6 separate regions of the Homo sapiens genome follow, and all the other regions are linked to region 6. The links are contacts of gene promoters, found by promoter capture Hi-C in blood cells and fetal thymus (Javierre and others, 2016). All regions are on one chromosome and are shown on one strand. The core of a region is centred on a gene start or on the middle of the fragment in contact, and the rest is flanking DNA. Distances in the headings are between cores, read along the strand shown. Region 1 has its middle 1.8 kb from the start of MARCHF4. Region 2 overlaps SMARCAL1-AS1 (SMARCAL1 antisense RNA 1). Region 3 has its middle 12 kb from the start of RPL37A. Region 4 overlaps RPL37A-DT (RPL37A divergent transcript). Region 5 overlaps SMARCAL1 (SNF2 related chromatin remodeling annealing helicase 1). Region 6 holds the start of XRCC5 (X-ray repair cross complementing 5).

The links. Contacts are between HindIII fragments. The CHiCAGO score rates a contact against its expected background, and 5 or more counts as called.
Region 1: a contact is called between a fragment that was not itself captured here and the fragment with the promoter of XRCC5 in region 6, in 2 of 17 cell types (naive CD8 T cells and naive CD4 T cells). The highest score is 7.0, in naive CD8 T cells.
Region 2: a fragment that was not itself captured here is called in contact with the fragment with the promoter of XRCC5 in region 6 in 10 of 17 cell types (neutrophils, activated CD4 T cells, naive CD4 T cells and 7 more); the score reaches 16.2 in neutrophils.
Region 3: a contact is called between a fragment that was not itself captured here and the fragment with the promoter of XRCC5 in region 6, in 3 of 17 cell types (naive CD8 T cells, total B cells and total CD4 T cells). The highest score is 6.7, in naive CD8 T cells.
Region 4: a fragment that was not itself captured here is called in contact with the fragment with the promoter of XRCC5 in region 6 in 6 of 17 cell types (neutrophils, total B cells, total CD4 T cells and 3 more); the score reaches 10.1 in neutrophils.
Region 5: a fragment that was not itself captured here is called in contact with the fragment with the promoter of XRCC5 in region 6 in 6 of 17 cell types (naive CD8 T cells, total CD4 T cells, endothelial precursors and 3 more); the score reaches 6.5 in naive CD8 T cells.

What each region holds. Positions count from the first base shown.
Region 1 is chr2:216,372,485-216,376,075 of GRCh38, forward strand. No RefSeq gene overlaps it. Among named protein-coding and RNA genes, the nearest start is that of MARCHF4, 1.8 kb to the left of the region's middle. The HindIII fragment of the contact is 2,896 bases long and covers 323-3,218 here.
Region 2 is chr2:216,398,329-216,401,915 of GRCh38, forward strand. All of the region lies in intron 1 of SMARCAL1-AS1 (SMARCAL1 antisense RNA 1), which reads right to left. It overlaps LOC107985984 (a long non-coding RNA gene), which reads left to right. Exons shown (of 3, transcript XR_001739880.2): 3 at 1,080-1,420. Among named protein-coding and RNA genes, the nearest start is that of SMARCAL1, 12 kb to the right of the region's middle. The HindIII fragment of the contact is 687 bases long and covers 1,064-1,750 here.
Region 3 is chr2:216,508,716-216,512,804 of GRCh38, forward strand. No RefSeq gene overlaps it. Among named protein-coding and RNA genes, the nearest start is that of RPL37A, 12 kb to the left of the region's middle. The HindIII fragment of the contact is 464 bases long and covers 1,395-1,858 here.
Region 4 is chr2:216,488,985-216,492,654 of GRCh38, forward strand. The region is part of intron 1 of RPL37A-DT (RPL37A divergent transcript); the gene reads right to left. Among named protein-coding and RNA genes, the nearest start is that of RPL37A-DT, 7.9 kb to the right of the region's middle. RefSeq lists an enhancer at 3,583-3,642. The HindIII fragment of the contact is 878 bases long and covers 1,910-2,787 here.
Region 5 is chr2:216,438,279-216,442,331 of GRCh38, forward strand. SMARCAL1 (SNF2 related chromatin remodeling annealing helicase 1) reads left to right here. Exons shown (of 18, transcript NM_014140.4): 10 at 142-207. Among named protein-coding and RNA genes, the nearest start is that of SMARCAL1-AS1, 28 kb to the left of the region's middle. The HindIII fragment of the contact is 164 bases long and covers 1,329-1,492 here.
Region 6 is chr2:216,107,669-216,111,614 of GRCh38, forward strand. XRCC5 (X-ray repair cross complementing 5) reads left to right here and starts at 1,680. Exons shown (of 21, transcript NM_021141.4): 1 at 1,680-1,789. The coding sequence starts at 1,769. RefSeq lists an enhancer at 1,404-2,025. The HindIII fragment of the contact is 16,954 bases long and covers 1-3,946 here.

The DNA.
Region 1 (3,591 bases), core at 521-3,020, 260 kb after region 6:
CGAGGGAAGGGGATGGGGAGGGACCAAGGGAAAGGGAGGTAACCAGGAGAGGGAGGGATTTAGGAAGGGAAGGAGGAGGGAGCGAAGTGAAGAGTAAAAGAAAGAAGGAGAAAGGCCACGGGGAGGGAGGGGAGCGATTCAGGCACTAACTCTTGCATTTCACCTCAGCAGGAACGTGTCGGTGTGGAAGGTCTGGTTGTAGACTCTCTGCCCACTGTCCACTATCACAGCTCCTCTCATTGCACATACAAGACACAGACACCTGTCAACCAGAGACCGTTTCTCTGTTCACATAAACATTTAAAGTAGATCTCAGTCTGCAAGCTTTCGAGGAGATAAAGTTTTGTGACTTCCACAATGAAGCTGGGACTTGATGGAGATTAAATTCCTCATGACTAAGGAAATGCTTGAGACATGAGACATGAGAAGGAAATGTTTCATTGAGGCTTGAGACATGAGAAGGAAATGCTTCAAATTTTCAAACAGGGAGGAGGTTGCTAGTACCATTTTTTTGTCAGCTTCTTCGCCTAGAATTTAAGCTCCAATTGACAGAGATAATTTTTTTAATTCATTTGATCCCGTGTGCCTAAGTCAGAGATGGCATCTAGTAAATGTTCAATGCATATTTGTTGAATGGCTTGTGGCCACCATCACCACAGTCATCATTACTATAAGTCACAGTGCTCTTTCAATTGTGAGTCATAAGAATCCAGAGCAATATTTCAGCTTCGTCTTCACCAACATCCCCAGCCTCCTCCCTATTCAAGCCTTTCACTGAGCCGCTGACAAGAGGTAATTTGAAATGGATTTTAATTTCCTCTCCTATTTCTGCTACTGACTCATGTCACCCTACCCTATTTTTCTCAAGGAGTTTCTTGAGCAGCAAAGTGCCCCTAAATGTGAAGAGCAAGAAAAAGAAGGAAACTTAAAGTGGTCTATATAAAACCTCAGTGTTTGCAGCTGTAGACTTTGGTCACTGAAAACTTAGGATTGCTTTTTTTGCCTTTCCTTATAAACCTCTCTCCCCCACCCCGCTCTCTCTCTCTCTCTCTCTCTCTCACACACACACACACACACACACACACACCCCTCTAGGGCCATAGAGAAGATATGCCAGTGATTCATCCAAACAGCCATGGTAATGCCTTTACAAATATTGGAGCCATAGACAGAGTAGCATGCAAAATTTCTGCAGCAAAATATCATTGGAACGAAGTTCAGTCCAATGAGTCATAAGAAAACTACCCCTTTGCTGCCATCTCTATGAAATGATTCATTCCTACAAGCTCTAAGGAGAAAGGACCTACATCTCAGTCTTGGTTAACCCAGCATGGCTACTTGTCTGAATCATGCCCCAGGACTCACCATGGATGCTGAGACCCAGCCCAAGGTGCTCATTTAAAGATGATACTAATATTTTTAATAACTACAAAATAATATTTATTGATTAATATCAGCACAAATACTGTGCAGCAACAAAAAACCTCTTTATTTCAAAAATTCTATTTGTTCTTCAAGAAAATATTTTGTGTTCCACATCACTCTGTATCTGTTTCTGGTATTGCAGAAATCATAGTCTATATAATAATTATCTCACCATACATTCATCTCCCTTTGTCTGACTCAGAGCTTCTTTAAGGCTGGGATCAGTATCTATATTTGTATCACCAGCACATAATGCAGCACCTGAAGTTAAGTAGGTGTTCAAGAAAATGGACTCTGAATAAATAAGTGGCTTTTTTATTTCAGTGAAGCTACCATATTTCTCCCCTTCAGCCTGGACACATACATGTGAGTGCTCCCACATATGACTGAATATCTGCTTTACCTAAAATTGAGTTTTAGGGTTTTGTGCTCATTAAATTCTAGCTCCAAGTGTGTTGTGCAAGTAAATTAGGGCAGGAGATAGAAATGCCATATGAGACCTATATCCAGAGTCATAGAAATGGATGATGTCCGGCCAGGCATGGTGGCTCATGCCTGTAATCCCAACACTTTGGGAGGCTGAGGCGGGTGGATCATCTGAGGTTGGGAGTTGAAGACCACCCTGACTAACATGGAGAAACCCCGTCTCTACTAAAAATACAAAATTAGCCAGGTGTGGTGGCACATGCCTGTAATCCCAGCTACTCGGGAGGCTGAGGTAGAAGAATCGCTTGAACCTGGGAGGTGGAGGTTGCCGTGAGCCAACATTGCACCATTGCACTCCAGCCTGGGCAACAAGAGGGAAACTCTGTCAAAAAAAAAAAAAAAAAAAAGAAAGAGGAAAAGAAAGAGAAAGAAAGAAAGAAAGAAAGAAAGAAAGAAAGAAAGAAAGAAAGAAAGGGATGATGTCCATAACAAGACTGCCTTTCCCAACCCTTCCACTGAAAGTGAAAAGATTTCTAGAAACAGAGAACTGCTAAGGACAGGAAGCAACAACAGGACTGCCTTTAGAAAGATTGAGAAGTGGCCGGGCGTGGTGGCTAACACCTGTAATCCCAGCACTTTGGGAGGCCTAGGCAGGTGGATTGCCAGAGGTCAGGAGATCGAGACTGGCCTGGCCAACATGGTGAAACCCCGTCTCTACTAAAAATATTAAAAATTAGCCAGGCATGGTGGTGTGCACCTGTAATCCCAGCTACTCAGGAGGCTGAGGCAGGGGAATTGCTTGAACCAGGGAGGTGCAGGTTGCAATGAGCTGAGATTGCACCACTGTACTCCAGCCTGGGTGACAGAGTGAGACTCCGTCTCAAAAAAAAAAAAAAAAAAAAAAAAGATTGAGAAGCCTAAGAGGCCTGTTTTGAATATAATGTAAATCTTGTAAAACACTTCACTGAGTTAGATTCTTCTTACTAACTGCCTAATCATGAGCCCAAAAGTAAAATCCCCATTATTGTCTAATGAGTTCCAGAGTAAAAACAACCATAAAGACCATATTAAATCAATGGGTTCCTATTTAGACATTCAAAAAATATTTACTGAACACCCATCATCGGTAAGGCATTGAATTGTGTTGAAAGATGTGGGGAGCACAAACTGGTTGGAATTGCATCCTCAAGGGTCTAGTACTATAAATATGTATGTAGTCATAATATAAAGCATAAAATAGTAAGTGTTACAAAAGCATACAAAGTTTGGGGAGTGTTCAAAATAGGGAGATAATGCTTACAGCTTGGCAGCAATTAGGAGAGGTGGGAAGAGGGGGGAGGTGGAGATAGTTGCCACAGCTCTGGGAAAGCTTTGAAAGCCTTTTTCAAGAAGTGACATTTGAACTGAGTTAAAATATGTGGAATTTAGAGGAGGGAGGCATATTCCTGGCAGTGGGAGCGCTGAATACTTTAGCTTTTCCATTAGGCTGTGGTGGAAGGTACTCAAAGGTAAGTAGCTAGAGGAAATGTCAGAAAGGTAGGCTGGAGCCAGATTCCAGAAGACCCTGGATGTCGCTCTGGGAGAAGATTTATTCATTGACCAGGTACTTGTTTTAATGGTTTTAAAGATTTGGAGCTGAAAGTGAAGGGCAAAAATAAACTTTATCTCTGAGCAGGTTAATTAACTGGATGGGATTTCATTGCTAACAGGTGGGAAGCAATCAATATTTTTCATTTCACG
Region 2 (3,587 bases), core at 157-2,656, 290 kb after region 6:
TGTGGTAGTCTGTTACAGCAATACAAATGGACTAAGACAATTATCATATCTAACAAAACAAAAATTCTTTCAAATCATCATGTATCCATTCAAATTCAAAATTTCTTGATTGTGTCGAAGTAAGGTTTTTTTAAACATTAATTTAGTTTGATTCACATTTCAATTTTTAGTCTAGCACAGGATCACCCACGAGGGAGCATTTTGAAAAAGTGTGGAGTGTTTTTGGTTGCCCCAATGATGGGTAAGGGGCTTACTTCTGGCAAGTAGAGGCTGGGACCCCAGGCAGCTCAATCTTTTACTATCTGTGAGACAATCTCACCATCTCATATATACTTACCCTATGCTCCACACAATTTTCAAATGTTCTACTAGATATTTACAGAGTTGTTTATAACTTGCTTATAACTATCTGAGCTTTAAAAAGTAACAATTTTATATGTAAACAGAGAGACTTTTTAAAAATGATTTTTAATATGCACTAACTGTATGCTAAGAATGAAACTACTCTGTAAATTAAGGGAAGATTAGAGTTTGTGTTGTTAATTTCTTTACCAGATTTGCTCACTCTTTTGGAAAATCACATCATTGACTGCCACACCACTCATGGTAATTGAGTCTCCAATATGCCTGTATTAGTTTTCATTCATAGCTGTCATAACTGTGGTGTTTTGCTTTTAGGAAATAGTGCCTGTCTTATCATGTATCCCGCATAGTCCTCTCTGAGTTGTTGGCTATTGAAATACACCCCTATGTGTGATTCCTTAGCTTCTTCCTACTCTAAGTGTTGCTCAGTCCTTCTCATCATGCCTGAACCAGATACTGTGGTCTCCAGCTGTCTTTCTCTTAGAATAATGTCCCAGCATTTAGGTTTGGTTGGGGACGGGAGCAAGGGGTGGGCATGAATTTCCTGAGCTTCCCTGGCATTTGCAGGGAGACAGCAAGGGAATACCTCTGTGGGTCACAACAGAGGGAGAGCCAGCTGAGCTTGCAGGATGGAAACATTTAGTAGGCTCCCTCCAGCCATCACTGTCTCCACTACTGCTGACGCCACCATCCATAACAAAGCTTCCAATTTGCAGGCTTCAGATTCAGCTTCTGTTTCCTGAGTGCCTCCACTATACCAGCCATTGGGCCAGGCATCCAGAAGCCCTAAGGTAGACCTCATCATCCCTGTTCTACAGGAGAGGAAAACCAAGACTTGGCTACTACAGTATACAAAGGGTGTGGAAAAGTCCTCCTAGAACCCTTACCCTGCTTCCAGGAGGAGCTGGACAGTTCTTTCCAAGTCCAGGCAGAAAGAAGTCTCCTCTTTTTCCATTCTCTTTGTTACTTTATATGTCTGTGCAGGCTTGGTTGAGGAAGAAGGGGGGCCAGAAGGAAGTCTGGCCAGATGGCAGGGTAATAAATGACTCTGACTTAATAATTTGTTGCTCTCCTCTTAATTAAAAGGCTTTTCCCTAAATGATTTGCTGATCACACAAACAGCACACACTAGTTGGGCGAGGACTGGGGGCCCAGGGAAATCTAGACTGAGAGGAGAAGGCATTGGAATAAAGAGGTGGCAGATGGCAGAAGAAGCCCACCCTCCATGTCCCAGGGTGGGCCCAGCTTCAGGAGCTCCCTCCTCCTCAGGTCTGAAACAATTCAATCCAATGATAGAGCTTTGGGGGACTGGTTCTTCTTTCAGGCCTCAGCTTTTCTGGAAGCTGACTTTGCCAGGGGGCTTTTTAATTTCTGGGATGAAGATATAAGCTTTATTTTATCTAACACGTGGCTTTGCATTCAGTTTCCTCAAAGCCCCATGTGGCCTTGGGGGGTGATCAGGTAGCCTTTGGACCATTTTGCATATAAACTGTCACTTATACACTTGATCAACTGGGGTGGTGGTCATAGAGGGGGACAGGGCACCCATTGTTCCAAGCAGCGTCCTGTCAATATCTGCAGTTGCAAGCAAATGACACTAGATAGTGTCAATGGATAAGCTCTCTATTGCATCTTTACAACTGCAATTTATAAGTTCCTGGGATTAAAATCTGCTTTCCAGCAATTATCACACAGAGGTATATTTTCAAAGCCTCACATGTAATTAGAACATGTTATTGATAAAGTGCTAGCTAAAGATTTAGACTTTGAGTCTGTTCATGAGGGATCAGTTTTGTTAATATTGATAATGTTTTCCCCCTTTAATGCAGTTAGGAGTTAGATTGAGATGCCAAATTCAATCAAAATGCACATCTTATCCCCCGCCAAGGGACTTCTGGCTCTCTTTTACTTGTTCAGACTTGTAGAAAGGACCCCAGAGATCGTGTCATATAGGAAAACATCCTGCCAATCTATAACTCTATGTTAAAGAATAAACTCTTTTACACATTATTTTGGTTAACTAGATTTTTCTCAGCATTTGTGCTTCCATCAGATTGGATCATCCTTGCCATAACCACCATCTTCCTATTATTGCTGGATTCCAAATTTCTACTTAGCCAGTTCAGACACCACTTCATCCGCTTAACCTTCCTGATTCTGTATTCCCTGTGTCTCCATCATCAGAGCTCCTCACTAAACCCCCAAGGCCATTTATCTGTGATTGATTGATTGATTTCTTTTTAGAGACGGAGTCTCACTATGTTTCCCAGGCTAGAGCACAGTGTCTATTCACAGGCATAATCATAGCCCACTAAGGCCTTGAATTCCTGGGCTCAAGCAACCCTCTTGACTCAGCCTCCTAAGCAGCTGGGACTACAGGCACACACCACTGCACTGATCTTATCCACAATTCTTTTTTTATTATATTTTCCACACAGGTATTCTCTCTTCTCCTAGTCTTTAAGTTCCTTGAGACAAACTTTCTTTTTAGTGTTTGTATTTCATCTGTTGGCAACAGTATCTTGCACACAAATCATAAAGACCAAGTTGAAGAGGCTTCTTACTTTGTTTCATCAGTCTGCTAATATGTTATCAATATCACACTAGTTTTATTATTGTAGCTTTGTAGTATATTTTAAACATTAATAGAATAATAACTTACATTTATTGATTACTTAATGTATTCCAGGCAATGAGCTAAGTGCTTTACATGATCTCAGGTAATCCTAACAGGAAGTCTATGGGATAGGTACAATTATTTCCATATTACAGATGGAAAAAACAAAATTTAAAGAGATGAATTTACTCCAAGACAAATGCAAAAAGTGCAGAACAGTGTATATAGCACACTGCCATCTGTATGAAAGGGAAGATAAATAAATGTTTTTACTTAAATGTGCATAGAATATATCCAGAAAAATATGCAAGAAATTGATTATGTAATTGAAATATAATAATTATATCCATGATTATTATAAGTCAATTAAAAATAAACAATTTTTTAAAAAAAGAAATGGATGACATTGGCTGCCTGCTGGGAAGGGAATGGGATGCGGGAGTTAAGAATGGAAGAAGAGCAGAATCAAGTTTTGGGTGTGCTGAAGCTCATACAATTTGGGGGGAGCACTTTTACCAAAAAAATACAAAATTAGATACAGAGCCTTAGAAGGGATATATGCCAATGAGGATCTCTGATGCCATAGGTTACTTTTTAAATCTGCCCT
Region 3 (4,089 bases), core at 377-2,876, 400 kb after region 6:
GACAGTACTAGAAAGGAGATTTTAAATGTCCTGAAAAGGTCTGACCATTTTGTGGTCCCCATATCCTATTACAATTTACTTTTTTGGTGATTAATTTAGATGGGCTCTCACTCACCCAGGTTGGAGTGCAGCGGCATGATCTGGGCTCACAGCAACCTCTGCCTCCTAGGCTCGAGCGATCCTCCCACCTCAGCCTCCTGAGTAACTGAGACTATAGGCAGGTGCCACCATGCCCAGCTAATTTTTTTGTATTTTTTGTAGGGATGGGGTCTTGCCAGGTTGCCCAGGCTGATCTTGAACTCCTGGGCTCAAGTGATACACCTACCTTGGCCTCCTAAAGTACTGAGATTACAGGCATGAGCCACTGCCCCCAGCCTACTTATTTTTAAGTATTTGTAAAACTTTTATTATAATGTCTTAGGCATTCAGAGGAAGCACAATTGCTGGTACTACTGAAAGGGGTATGTTGAGCCATCTGTGTCATATTCCAACTTTTGTCTTGGCTCATTTCAATTTTATGGTCACAAGAATGTAAACTACTGTCTCTCCTCATTTTGCCTGTTACCTGGTAAATGTTTAGTGACTTGTTCATGTTCTCCGTTTAGTAACATCATACATCCTATTTCTGTTAGCTAGTCTTGATACTTTTCTGATGATCAGATTACCTACTCCTTTTGATACATGAAGTTTTGCGTATCCTTGGGCCAATCAACTCTCCATATTTTGCAGAATTGTGAGGATAGTCATTACCAGTCTCTGATTGAGAAGCAGCTTACAAAGGTATCGCATCTTGGTATGGTAGCTAATTGGGAATTTGGGTTGATTAGTGAAGGGATGAATGCTTTTTTGGTTCCACATGTGATACTTAGGGGCATCTTTGGAATTGCATGTAAGGAAAGAGGGGCATGTAGAATGCATTAGAGATTCCATCATAATCATGTCTGGGCGTGGTGGCTCACACCTGTAATCCCAGCACTTTGGGAGGCCAAGGCGGGTGGATCACCTGAGGTCAGGAGTTTGTGACCAGCCTGACCAACATGGTGAAATCCTGTCTCTACTAAAAAATTACAATATTTACCCGGGCGTGGTGGCACGTGCCTGTAATCCCAGCTGCTCAGGAGGCTGAGGCAGGAGGTGGAGGTTTCAGTGAGCTGAGATCGCTTCATTGCACTGCAGCCTGGGCGACGGAGTGAGACTCTGTCTTAAAAAAAAATAAAAACTACTGTCATCTACAGCCTTTGGTACTCTTGTTTCTCATAACTGAACACTCTCAATATGCTCAGTTGATTGGACCCGGGATGGACAACTGATAGAGTAAATGGAACCAATCAATTATCTTTAGAGAATTTGGATCAAATGACACAGCAGCTGAGTTAAACTAAGGCAGAGCATTAAGCTTTGGGAAAAGCTCATGACTCCTGCTGCCAGGATCACAACACTGCCCCAATTCCCAGCCAGAGTGTTTGGTTGCATGCAATAAAGACTGACTGCAGGTAACTAAAGCAGAAAAAGTATTTATTGGAGGGTAATAGAGTGCTTCACAGGATTGAAAAAAACCTAAAGAATCAGGTTTATAAGGGGAATAAAATAGGACGTTCTCACAGATATCAAAGGGAGGAGTGAAAGAAGAATCCCCAGTAGGGAGCTGAGCTTCTGGTCTGTTTTATGTCTTGACACTATTCAGAAGTCAAAAACCTGAACAGAAGAGTCCAGTGGCCTAGTTGGGGGCCATACTTCTGGCCCTTGGCACCTTAGTTGGCGGTCCCACCAAGACTACAGATAACATAGGAGAGATAAATCTCTAATAGGAAATTAGAGATTATCCATAATTTTAGGAGGGCAAATGTTCTTCACATCAAGCTTGAATTACCATTTAGGTTGTATTTGTACTACTTACTCTTTTATAAACCATCTAATTATAAGGTAATGCCCCTTGGATTTTGTCCCTCAACTGATGGAAGAACACTACAACAGAGCCACAAGTATACAAGTTGGGGGGCAAAGTCCCCCCAACTCTTCCCCATGGGGACCTGAGACCACTCACTGTGGTCAGAGTAGGAGCTTTTGGAGGTCAGATGGCAGATGATGTCTTGGATTGAATATCTCACAGTGGATAATGTGGAATGGTGGCTCCATCCTTTGTTTTTTACCCTATTTCCAGAATGGTGAAACTCCTTTATTTGACCCATGGCCCATGGAGGGAGGGCTGTTAGGGTTGGAAAATCAAGTGCAAACCTCTAGGGTTGCCTCTCCTACACACAGTAAAACAAAAGGAATCCCTGGGTGAATCACAGATAAATGGCTTATCCAAACATCTGAAATTTTCATGAATAATGATCTTATGATCATAACTAACCTCAGCTATGATTCTGGGTATAAATCTATATTGGAGGAAATCAACATATCTTCTGGCCATGACATACTGCTCCTATTAACCTAACAAATGTATTTTTTCCTTTCATCCCTATCTGCAAAGTAGTCAAAACTAGTTTATCTTCACTTGCAGGGACAGCAGTATACTTTCACTGTTTTACTTCAGGGCTATCAACTCATATACTCATATACAACTCATATGTTATTGATGTTAACGTAATGGTGTTACTGTTATTTTTAAATGAATTGGTAAACAAATGTTTTTTTTTAAAATTCCCAGTATTAATTCCTTTTTGTGTTTTTGAGACAGAGTTTCACTCTGTGCCCAGGCTGGAGTGCAATGGTGCGATCTCGGCTCTGCAACCTCTGCCTCCTGGGTTCAAGCAATTCTATTGCCTCGGCTTCCTGAGTAGCTGGGATTACAGGCATGCACCACCATGCCCGACTAATTTTTTTGTATTTTTAGTAGAGACAGGGTTTCACCATGTGGACCAGGCTGGTCTCAAACTCCTGACCTCAGGTGATCTGCCTGCCTCAGCCTCCCAAAGTGCTGGGATTACAGGCATGAGCCACTGTGCCCGGCATCATATACTATTATAATATAATCCAGAAAGATCTTGATCATTTTGGTGTCTTAGGGAAGATACTGATCCATTACACTGATGACGTAACAAGTGGACCTAAAGAGATCAGGAAGTGTTGAGAATGATATACCCAGTACGATATGAATATGGTGTTTAGGTTATCTTGGGGATTTCCTACCTGAAGTGATAGACAAGTTGCTGCACTGTAGACTATTCCCAACTAAGAGACATAATCTTTACTGGGTCCGTTTGGATTGAGGGGGATGGTTGCAAAGTAAGTCACATTGAGTGTGCTTCTCTGTCCCATTTACTGAGTAACCTGTAAGACTTGAGTGGAGTCTGTCAGAGTTTTCAGTAGAGCCTGGAGAAAAAACAGACTTGGCAGCAGATCCAAGTTGTAGTCCCAAGTTGTTCTGGCACTTGGTCTGTATGACCTAGCAAATCTAAGTAGATTCGAGGTGTTAGTGGCAGATAGAGATGTCCTATGATGCTGCAAAAGAAAAATTGTAGTGCACTAGGGATTTGAAATTAATGACCTCTTCTGCTGACATCTGTTATCTATTTAAAAATTAGGTCTGGTTTGCTACTAGACCCTGGTAGAATACCTGAGCATGGAACATCACGTTTCTTTGCAACTGAATCTGTTTATTATAAACTTGATGTTATCTGATCTATAAAATTATAAAATTAGATGTGTGCAACAGCATTCCATTCCAAAATGGAAATGGTTTATACAAAATTGTACCAGAGAATATCCAGAAAATACAAGTATGCTGTTTTAAGCATGAAGCTTAGATTCCCATGGACTCTTAGATTCCCATGGAATATATTTAGGTGTATTCTCCTACTGCCTCACTGTTTCTCCTGGAATCAGTTGTCTTCTTGGGGAGTTTGTTATGTCAGCTAATGGAAGAGGGAAAAGTGCATCATGGATAGAACTACATCCTGTACTGGCATCAGCTGAAAGCGGACAGAGGTAGAGGGAGGACAGTGGTAAAGGGAAGTCCTCCCAGTGGGCAGAACTTAAGATAGTATCCCCTTTGCATGCAAGAAGAGATGGTCTGAAGTAGAGACTTATATTGATTGATGAGCAGGCAGAAAAGGGTGGTGTCTCCAGATACTCACATTACCT
Region 4 (3,670 bases), core at 1,099-3,598, 380 kb after region 6:
ACCCAGGCTGGAGTGCAGTGGGGCAATCTTGGCTCAGTGCAATCTCCACCCCCTGGGTTCAAGGAATTCTCCTGCCTCAGCCTCCCGAGTAGCTGGGATTACAGGCACCCGCCACCACGTCTGGCTAATTTTTGTATTTTTGGTAGAGATGGGGTTTCACCATGTTGGCCAGGGTGGTTTTGAAGTCCTAACCCTAGGTGATCCACCCACCTCGGCCTCCCAAAGTGCTGGGATTACAGGCGTGAGCCACCACACCCCGCCTGGTGCTCATATTTAAAACCATTATTTGTCTGTAGTCTTAGTAAATATGGCCTCCATCTGAGGCCTCTAGTTGAACCTCAGTTTTAGCTGTTCTGGAGAAAAACGAACTCTCTCTTTGAGATGTCCCTGAGGTCCTCCAAAGCAAATTTTATTTATACCATGTAGCCTATTTTAAGTTAGACCATCCCATATGTACTCTGAAATTTGTTAAGAGTCACCTAACCAGTTCTGTATAATTCAGCAAAAGACACTTGGACTTATTTATATAGAGAGTGAATACCACTGGGTTTAAAGTGGTATTAATATTTCCACACTAACTCCTTTTCCTCCTTCATTTCACAGCACAGTCCAGACCCCCAGAACTGTGTTTTCTGGAAGCGTCAACTGAAATGAAGAAAATCTAGGCCCATCTCCTCCCACTCTTGTCCCTGCCATCAATTGTACCCTTACAGGATTTTACTAGAAGTCCCCTCTGGCCCATGGAGCTGGTCTCTGCCTTCCCTCACCAGGGTCACTAAGTGGTATCTTGTTTCCTGAGTGATCCTGGTTGATTTCTGCCTCTAGGGCTGGCATCAAGGAAACCTCTAAGAGGCAGCAAAGAATCCTGTTAGTCTTGATCCACTTGTGCTTGAATTAATCATGTCTTTTTCCTTCTTGGCTTCAGAGGAGCCTTTTTCTAGATCAGTGGGAGAGCTGAGAAATTGAGCAGGAGGTGTCATCCCCACACCACTGGCTCTGAGGTGTTGTCTTGTCTGTTCGTTCTCGTCTGTTAGAACCTCAACGCTTTTTGAAGTTCTATCCTCTTTTTTGCAAAGGGGAGAGAATGAAGTCCAACCTTATATTTACTCCATCCTCCCACTTCTCACCAAGTTCAGAATTATCAACATAAAAAGTGGCTCGGAAGTTTAAAGAGGGTTAATTGGAGAAGTCTCTTCTACCTGTGTTTTGTTTTGGTTTTGTGTTTTCCTGTGCAGTCTCAGTGAAGGAAATGAATTCCTGACCATAGCAGAAAGCATTAAGAAGCCTGTGAGTCACAGTCTTTTGGGCATTATGACAATCAACAGTTATCTGATTTTGCAAGATCCTCTGCACACATTTCTCTCCCACCCCCTATTCAACAGATTTTGAGGCTCTTTTTCTCTTTTTTAACTCCTTTTTTTGGGGGCAAAATATAATATACAGAACAGTTCATAAAACAATTTAGTTTAACAAAATATTTTAAAATACACATCCATGTAACCATGACCCCAAGGTTATGAAAATAGTATGTTGTGAGGCCGGGTGTGGTGGCTCACGCCTGTAATCCCAGCACTTTGGGAGGCCGAGGCAAGTGGATCACCTGAGGTCGGGAGTTCGAGACCAACCTGACCAACACGGTGAAACCCCATCTCCACTAAAAAAAAAAAAAAATACAAAAATTAGCTGGGTGTGGTGGTGCATGCCTATAGTCCCAGCTACTTGGGAGGCTGAGGCAGAAGAATCACTTGAACCCGGGAGGCAGAGGTTGCAGTGAGCCGAGATCGTGCCACTGCACTCTAGCCTGGGCGACAGGGCGAGACTGCCTGGGCAACAGAGCAAGACTCCGTCTCAAAAAAAAAAAAAAGAAAGAAAGAAAGAAAAAAAGAAAAAGAAAATAGTATGTTGCAGAAGCTTTTGTGTTTTGCCGTTAATGTTTAGATCTACAATCCACCTGCAGTTTATTTTTGTATATGGGGTGAGGTAAGGCCAAGGTTAATTTTTTCCATATGAATATGCAGTTAGCTCGGCACCACTTATGGAAAAGACGGTCCTTCCACCTACTGCTCTGCAGTGCCTTCTTTCCAATATTATGAACTGGATGTAAAAATACATCTAAGGCTGGGCGCAGTGGCTCACGCCTGTAATCCCAGCACTTTGGGAGGCCAAGGCGGCAGATGAACTGAGGTCAGGAGTTTGAGACCAGCCTGGCCAACATGGTGAAAACCCATCTCTACTAAACATGCAAAAAAATTAGCTGGGCATGGTGACGGGCGCCTGTAATCCCAGCTACTCAGGAGGCTGAGGCAGGAGAATTGCTTGAACCCGGGAGGCGGAGGTTGCAGTGAGCCGAGATCGTGACACTGTACTCCAACCTGGGCAACAGACAGAGACTCTGTCTAAAAAAAAAAATTCATCTAGAAAAGTATAAGCTCAAAAATAAGAGTCCTGCATTCTCCTCCCTCCCTCCCTCAGCCCTACCTCCTAGAAGTAATAACTAAATAATTTGAGATAAAGCCATTTGTAATTTATCTCTATGCATACAAATATATGTAAAATACACATAGAATCTGTTTTTACAAAAACTGTATCAAATTCTTCATACTGAAAATGACTCACTTCACATGATGTACTTGGCCATTGTTTCATATTGATCTACCCATTAAATTATGATTTATTTATTTATTTATTTATTTATTGAGACAGAGTCTGTCTCTGTCGCCCAGGCTTGAGTGCAATGGTGCGATCTCAGCTCATTGCAACCTCCGCCTCCTGCTACTCGTTAAATTAAGCTTAACCCAGTGCTGCCTTGTTACATATTTTAAAGTCCGCCTAAAGGTTTCTCTGTGCAGAGTGAACTATAACCTAACTAGATTGGTAAACAGACTGGGACCCACTCTTGTAACAAGTAGCCAAGTCTCAGGCAATTACCGCAGCCATATGTCAGCCAATCACAGGTGGCCAACCGTTCACACTGTGTTCAAATAAGGCAAATATGCAACCAATCCAGCTCTTTCTGTCCTCACTTCCCTTTTCTGTATGTTACTTTCTTTGTTCTGTCCATAAATGTGAACCAACCATGTGGCAACCCTGGAGCTGCTCCGGACCTCTTCTGGTTGTGGGGGCTGTCCAATTCACAAATCATTCTTTGCTTAATTAAACTCTGTTAAATTTAATTTGTTGAAAGTTTTCCTTTTAACATACCTTATCCCACTTAAGAGTTGCCAAGTAACTACTCCAGTCTTTATGTGTGCACTTCCTGTGTAAATGCTCTGTGACGGGTCCATTAATAACTAGAACGAGTTTAAATGGAATTTGAGGGGAGAAGGAGGAAAGGAAAGAGGGGTTGCCTGAGTCAATTTCCCACACTCTTATTCTTTCGGGGCATCCAGGACTGCCTTGGAGGGCCTCACCTTTCCTGCTGGGTCAGCTCTTGCCTGTGGCTCTGGCCTCACGGGACTCTCAACAATGCTGTGCAGGCCCCACTCTTGTCTGTGGCCCCCAGGGGCTTTGTGGAGAGCAGGCTCTCTTGAGGCATGAAGTGAAGGAACCACGCCCCAATAAACCCTTTCTGTCTCCAGCACAAGATGAATTTGGAATGATGCTTGCACCTCAGATTTCTTTCAAGAATAAAATGTTCCATATGCCCCAAGAGAACTGGTTAACAGCTACA
Region 5 (4,053 bases), core at 161-2,660, 330 kb after region 6:
AGTGAGCCATCTCCTTGAATGAGAAAGTGCTAAGGGAGCATCCACCTTGCACTTGCCATGCCAGGGTCAAGCCTAAAGTGACCCATATTTCTGTCCACTCAGGATTGGATCTTGTACACTTATGTGGCTACTTCTTTTCAGGATGAATCTCACTTCCTCAAAAACAGTAGGACTGCCCGCTGTCGAGCAGCTATGCCGGTCCTAAAGGTGAGTACTTCTGAGAACTGAGCCCACTGAGCATTGGCATCCCATAATATTTTGCTCAGGCTTGCATGTCGTCCTAGTCCAGCAGGGGTTGCAAGTATAGACCTGTGGGCCATGGTCATGACTTGGCATTGACTTAGGGCATCTGTCTCTCTCCTTAGGGCTGTGGTACCAATTTCATCTTTCTTCCTAACATCCTGCTAAGGAACTAGTAGGCAGTACTAGTAGTCAGTAGTGCTGCCTTTGTCTCTCGAAGGTCAAGACTGTTGAGGCTGGGTGGGCATTGGACTCCAGAATCCTCCTCTGGCTTCCTACTTAGATAAGAGAGAGCCTCTAGCAGCTTGTCCACTAATTAGCTTAGAAAAAACTGCCTGTCTTCTAAGTCACTTGTAGTGGCAAAGCTGCCTAGATGCTGGAAATCAGGGAAGACGAGTTGTATTAATGAAAGTAATGGCAAAAAAACGCAATTACTTTTGCATCAACCTAATACAAACAGAACTGAGCAAGGGCTGGCGGGGTCAGCGAGATACACTGGCAAAGCTAAGATGGGCCTTAAAAGCTGATACTGTTTTCTGTGGCTACCCTGAGCCTCTTTGGTTGACAGAAGGGGCAGCCATCCCCCTTCCTCCCTGTGGTGGCCTAAACTCATTTCTGAGTGCTTTGGCGGGTGTGAGTTCTGGCTTCACAGCAAGCAGGCGTGGGTATGTGATGCAGATTCTAGTCTTTAAGCATGTTCTGATGTGCAATATAGGCTCTGTATTTCATCTGTCTCTCTCTTCTGTGTTTGGTTTCTTAGTCCCCCATCCCAACAGAGGGTAGTCCTCCAAATTTCCTTCCATTATGGGGGGGGGGGATGATTTTTTTCCTATTATTGTAAGAGGGAAGGAGAAGTACAATTAGAAAAGTAGCCTTTTCTCTTGTAACAAGTTAGAAGTTTCTCACAGATTACTTTGGAGGTATCCACTTTGGTTTGTGTAGACTGAGCAAACCAAAGTGTGTGTTTTTCTTGTGCTCAAAGCAACCTTTGTGTTGTACCAGCATTTTAAAACTATGGCTTTTATTGATTAAAAGAAGCTTTAACTTTTACCTAAACTAGGGAAAACAAATACGCTGAATGTTAATGAAGCTTAGCATTTGAACATTAATCTTAACATTTCCTCACAAAACACACGTAAGTGTCCACTCATTTCAAGTTTTCATGTGTTTAGGAATAACGGAATATGATACATCTTCCAAGGCAGGGTCATGTCATGTGCCAAACCAAAGAATAAAAGTCTTTTACTGCAAAAGCTTGGTTTTGCTGGGGTGGTGGCTCACGCCTGTAATCCCAGCACTTTGGGAGGCCGAGGCATGTGGGTCACTTGAGACCAGGAGTTTGAGACCAGTCTGAGCAACATGACGAAATCCCGTCTGTACTAAAAATACAAAAATGAGCCAGGCATGGTGGTGCACACCAAGCTGAGGCAGGAGAATCGCTTGAACCTGGGAGGCAGAGATTGCAGTGAGCCGAGATTGTGCCACTGCACTCCAGCCTGGGTGACAGAGTGAGACTCTGTCTCAAAAAAAGAAAAAAAAAAAAAAAGCTTGATTCTCTGCCAGTATTACCTATAAATATTTATATGTCAATAGCCATTGATGGACACATTTAAATAAAATGTTTTTCCTAGGTTGATGACCCTTCTTTTGGGAGGCCTTAATATGCTTTCCATAGGAAAACAATAGGGTTAGGTATTTTGGTTTCAGTATTTCAGCCATAACTAAATTAAATCTTTACTCCTGATTGTTTAGACAAAAGAAAATGCACAATAGATAGATTCTATCATTAAAGATACAATGTGAAAGCTTCTAGCAACCACTTGTTAATGTAGTCATTGCCTGGCTGGGCAAGCTGAGCCAGATAGTGGTTTCTGAAATGTGTGCCTCTCAGCCAGACCTTTGGAAGCAGCATATACCTCTTTAATATCTTGAGTGTGTTTCAAAGTGACATGTTTAAAAGAAATCTCTAAACTGCTAACTAATATGTACTACTCTGCATTTGCTGTAGAACTTGGATGAATTAATATTTTAAAATAAGCCTCATGAACATGGCCTGTGTTTATGAAGGTGTCTTGGGGCCACGCTCTTCCGCAACGTTGACTTCATATAATGCTGGACTGTGGCAGGATTGGGCTGAAGGAGTGGGATGGAGCATTCTGTGCTATTCTGTTAACCGAACCTTTCATCTCTGTCTTATTGTATTTTCGTCTAGATTGGAGTCTCTCAACCATGGTACTGTTGACATTTTGGGCTGGATGACTCTGTTGTTGGGGGGCTGTTGTGTGCATTTTAGGATGTTTAGCAGCATCCGTGGCCTCTACCCACTAGATGCCAGCAGTTCCTCCCCAGTCATGACAACCAAAATTGTCTCCAGATGCCACCGAATGTCCTCTGAGGGAGGACAAATCACTCTCTACTCACCTTGCCCTTCTCCAACCCCATGGAGAACCACCAATCTAAATAAGGAAATGAATCTAAATGTTTTTGGAATAATAAGATAGTTGGGAAAAAGTAAAGTATGTCTTTGAAAAGCCATATAAGGACCTAATTTAATACCACTTGATTGTTCCTCTAATATGAACATCTCTTAGAACTATATTCTGATAATTAATATTACAAGCATATTTTCAGCAAATAGGCATAATGAGGTATTTAGATTAAATCATACAGTTCGTTGGATAGCAGGGCCAGATCGTGTCCAGAAAAATGTGGATTTTGTAAATAGCAATAGCAGTCAGCAGAGAGAAGGTGTGTTAGATTGTAAGAAATTGGTGTCACTGTCCCCTGGGAAACGTGACATTTTTCTTCCCCCACAGCACTATTGGCTGGGGCTACTAATCCTAAATGAGGTAAATCTATTTTTATATATAAATATATGAAAGTAGACCAGATAGAAGCTAAAAAGAACAAAGTTAAAATTACCTTTAATCCCTCCAACAGAAAAAGCCACTGTTAACAGCTTATTTTTCCAGCATGTCAATTATTGAGCAAGATCATCATTTTTCAATAACTATGGAGCATTTACATAGTGGAGACACATCCCATAATTTAATCCTCAGTATCAGACATGCGGTTGTTTTCCATTTTTGCTATTATAAATAATTCTGCAAGTGAACATCATCTATATGTACCTTGCATATTTATCCTATTAGGACAAATTCCTACAATCAGAATTGCCAGGTCAGTTTTCATTTGACCTTTTTAGGGGAGGCCTCTGAAGTCCAGTCTGGCCAGGCATAACAATCTTCACTCCCATTCAGTCTTCAATCAGAGGCTTTTTTTTCCCACATGACTCCGCCCTCAGGATTACTGGCACTCTTTTAAACAGTGAGGTGTGTGTTTGGGGTTTTTTGGTTTAGTTTAGTTGTCTTTTGTCTACACTGGCTTTTATTGTTAAACTAGTGTAATAACAAAATTAAAAATTTTTCAAAGGGAAAGGCCCCTAGAGTCCTACCATTCTTTCCTAAGAAGCAGCTGTTTCTCTTTTTCTGTAAGTAGAGAGTACTTTTTATATCTCTGTTGATTGGCTGGATGAGATAGTGGCTAAAAGGTATAAGGTTTTTTTCTTTTTCCTTTGTTATTAAAGTAGTTTAAATAGATGATAAATTCAAATGGGGCCGGGCGCAGTGGCTCATGCCTGTAATCCTAACACTTTGGGAGGCCTGAAGCAGGAGGATCACCCGAGGTCAGGAGTTTGAGACCAGCCTGGCCAAAATGGCGAAACCCCATCTCTACTAAAAATACAAAAATTAGCCAGGCATGGTGGCACACACCTGTAATCCCAGCTACTTGGGAGGCTGAGGTGGGAGAATC
Region 6 (3,946 bases), core at 430-2,929:
AAGGGAGACAAGGACCACTGACAAGATATGGTATGTGATACTAATCAGATTTGGCTTCTTTCTGTCCTGCTTCACCAGAGGCTGGACTCTCCTTGTTTCAGTTTCTCCGCTTTCCACAGATAAATCTTTTGTTTCCCGGATAGCCACTTGGCCTGTTTGCCCTTTGCTCCCATTTTTCCTTGTTTGCTTCTTTGTCTGAAAATTTATGCTGTCCTGCTGCCTCCGCTGGGCTTCGTTTCCACCTTTGCTGGAGGAGATTTAGCTGACAACCTCACAGATCTTCCCCGCCCCTTCTGCCGAGCTGATCTTTCTCTTGGAAATCTTACCCGCAGGGAAGGGCGAGTGTCCGTGCCTGCCTGCCTGCCTGCTGCAGCCCGCGCAAAGCTGAGCGGCCAGGGCGCTGCTGTTCCTTTAAAGTATTATTAAAAATAATATTTCAGCTTTTAAGTAACTCCTTGAGTTTGAATCAAAAGCTGGAAGAACCTCCTGGGCTCTATGAGCACCTCTGAATATGTCTGACTCTACATTCTAGAGGCTTCAATGTATTTATAATTTTGGCTCATAGATTCTCCACATCTTTTCAGCTTCAATTCTTGCTTTTCCCAGAAACAATTTTCAAGCAGGAGAGAATATTGATTGGACTTGATTTTCTCAGTTTGGGCAGAGGTTTGCAGACACTTTGCAGGTTGCCAGACCCTTCGTCCAGCCACCTGTCAGCTGGGGGTCATATGGTATAGAAAGCAGTCATTTCTATGCAAGGTACTGCTTGGGCCTGCCTCCCTCAAAGGGGTAGGGGATGCGGGCTGGACAAAGGGCTCGTGATCAAGTAAAGCACTGTGATGACAGCTGCTATTTCTATATCTCCCTAGACTTGTCTTCTAAATTAAACCTTGACTCCTCCCTTCCAAGCTGGAGCCACTGCTAACTACTGGGAGAGCCTTAGCAGATAAAGTCTCATGCCTCCAGGCGTTTGTGCATCCCATTTTCTCTGCAGAGTAGAATCTCCCTTCTACTTTTGTGCTCCTGGGGACGTCCTACTCTTCTTCCCCAGTTGGCTCTAAGGTTATCACATCGGTGAAGTGTTTCATTATCACTTTTTAGAAGAAACTGAGTCTTTTAGAGAAGTTAAGTGACTTTCTGCATTCATACTCATACTCAAGAAAATCTAACTCCACAATAACCAAAAATAAAAAGTAGAAAAAAACCCACAAGTGATGAGAAAAAAAAAAATCAAAAGTTATAAAAAATAAATGAAAAAATGAAATTAAAGGAAAAAAGATTTTTTAAAAAAGTAAAAAAAAGAAAAGAAATCTAACTCCAGAGCTCTGACACAAAATGCCTTAGGTGTTATTCTCAATGAGAGAAAAGGGACGTGAATCTTTAAGTGATTAAGTGAATCTTTAAGTAAATCTGTCGTACTAGCGTTTCAGGCGGCTCAAACACCACACGCTCCCGACTACGGCGGAATGGAGAGAATGTGCGCATGCTCGGCGGGAATCTGCGCATGCTCGGCGGGAATCTGCGCATGCTCGGAGAGAATCTGCGCATGCTCGGCCGGAATCTGCGCGAGCTCGGCGGGAATCTGCGCAAGCTCGGCGGGAATCTGCGCATGCTCAGAGTTCCGGGGCACGGTTTCCCCGCCCCTTTCAGGCCTAGCAGGAAACGAAGCGGCTCTTTCCGCTATCTGCCGCTTGTCCACCGGAAGCGAGTTGCGACACGGCAGGTTCCCGCCCGGAAGAAGCGACCAAAGCGCCTGAGGACCGGCAACATGGTGCGGTCGGGGAATAAGGTATAAAGAAAGCCATGGACTTGGGCTTTACCCGGACTGGGGATCCGGAGAGGGTGGTTCGGAAGCAGGAATCGTGGGATCGCGGTCAAGACAAAGAATGGGGCAAGAGAAGATCATGGTGGTGGGCTCAGTCAGGAGGGCCGGGACCGAGGGATGCGCTATGAGAAAAGCTGGAGATTTGGGGCTCCAAGACCTGAATTTGAGCCTCGCTGACTCCACCTCTTCCATTACCCACCCATCCCATCCCTCTTCTCCCTCTCTACCTGCTCTTTGTCTCACCTGCCTCCCCACCCGCCTCCCCTCTCTCTCTCTTTATCCCATTCCACTCCCTAGCCCCACTTCCTCTATTACTTCCGAGCCTGGGTTCTTAAGATCTCTATGAGAATGAAAATTAGCTGTGATAAAGCAACTATCCCACAGGGCTTGTTGTAAAACTTAAGAGAGGGACTATCTGTGACTAAAATAACTTAAACTGTAAAGCGTCGTATTATTAGCTTTATAATAACGTAGTATCCCGCATTTATTGAAAGCCCACTCTGTGAGGGACGGATCTAAACCTTTTATTCTTATCTCATTTAATCTTCACAACCCCTTGAAGTGAAAACTATTTATCCCCATTTTGCAAGTGGGAAAACCGAGGAATAAAGAACTGTGGGCTTTTCCTGGTGAAATCCGGATTTGAATCCAAGCTGTCTGGTTTCAGGGCCCTGGAGAACCCCTGTGTTGCTAGAAATCTATGACCATTGGTGTCCCAGATCAGTAACAGAAATTACAATGAATTTTAAAGTGATTTTTTTTTTTCAACATAAAAGAGTGGTAGTTGTCTCTGAAGGGTCACTAGAGGGAGATGTGGTTCCAGGGATTAATGAATTTATTCAATACAGATAAACAAGATACGAGTTTGAGCAACTGATCCCTAGTTCCCTCAACTCCTCATTGAGAAATGTTGATTAAAACGATCATGAACTTTTAATAATGCCACTCACCTCCTTTTTTCGTCCTCTTTCAGCTGCTGAAAACTTTGTAGCTCTAGTGGAGGAGCTGTTTGTTGCAGATGAACTGGAAGTAAAATTCTAACAGCCTGTATTGCTTCGGTATAGAAATGAAGAGTTGCTATGCTACCCGGTTTCTCTTTCTCAGTTTTCTTACTGCTGCCAGATAGGAACTCAGAAATATAGACCATTCTGCTTCCAGACAATAAGTTCCATATTTGAAACCCTTTGATGGCACTTACTGGATACCTAATTCATGACAAAAGTGCTTTAGTCCTCTAGAGTTTTCTGGTTTAAAAGTAGCTTTTGTGGGTGTGTATCAAATAAGTGCAGCAGCATATTTTGTGACTCTTAAGTTTTTTTAGGTTATCATGCCCCAGGCATTGAAACTGGGATGTGCATTTTACTGTTCTCAAAGGAATTTTGTGGTTTATTAGCACGTTTTTTTTTTCAAATAATCTAATTTTACTTCAGAAATCTCTTAGTGCATTGTGTTGTTTGTAAACTAGTGAAAAATAATCTTTTCTTTTCATGTGTTGCCTGAGATATAACCACATTTAGAAATCATCTATAACTTCCCTGATAGGAATTCATTCAGGTTTTTAAAACATTTCTAGGGTCAAGAGATCACTTAAAAAAGAGTAGTTTCTTTATTGATCACTTCTAAATGTTATTTTTTATCCCTCGTATGGAGTCGCATCAGTCTCCCTGTAACTTCCATCTGTTGATCCCGTTGTCTTTCTTGGCAGACCAATCCTTTTATACAACAGTTGTCAAATATCTGGGGGGAGGCCAGACACGGTGGCCTATACCTGTAATCCTAGCACTTTGGGAGGCGGAGGTGGGAGGATTGCTTAAGCCAAGGAGTTTGAGACCAGCCTGGGCAACACAGTGAGACCCCAACTCTACAAAAAAAATTTAAGAATTAGCTGGGCATGGTGGGGTGCAACTGTGGTCCCAGCTATTTGGAAGGCTGAGGTAGCGGGATCACTTGAGCCCGGGAGATGGAGGCAGTAGTGAGCCATGATCATGCCACTGTACTCCAGCCTGGGTGACAGTGAGACCATGTCTCAAAAAAAAGGAAAAAAAAATGGTGGGGAGGAAAACTGTTATGTTCCCTTTAATCTTCTCATCTGACTTAAATATCTAGTTATTTCCAACTGTT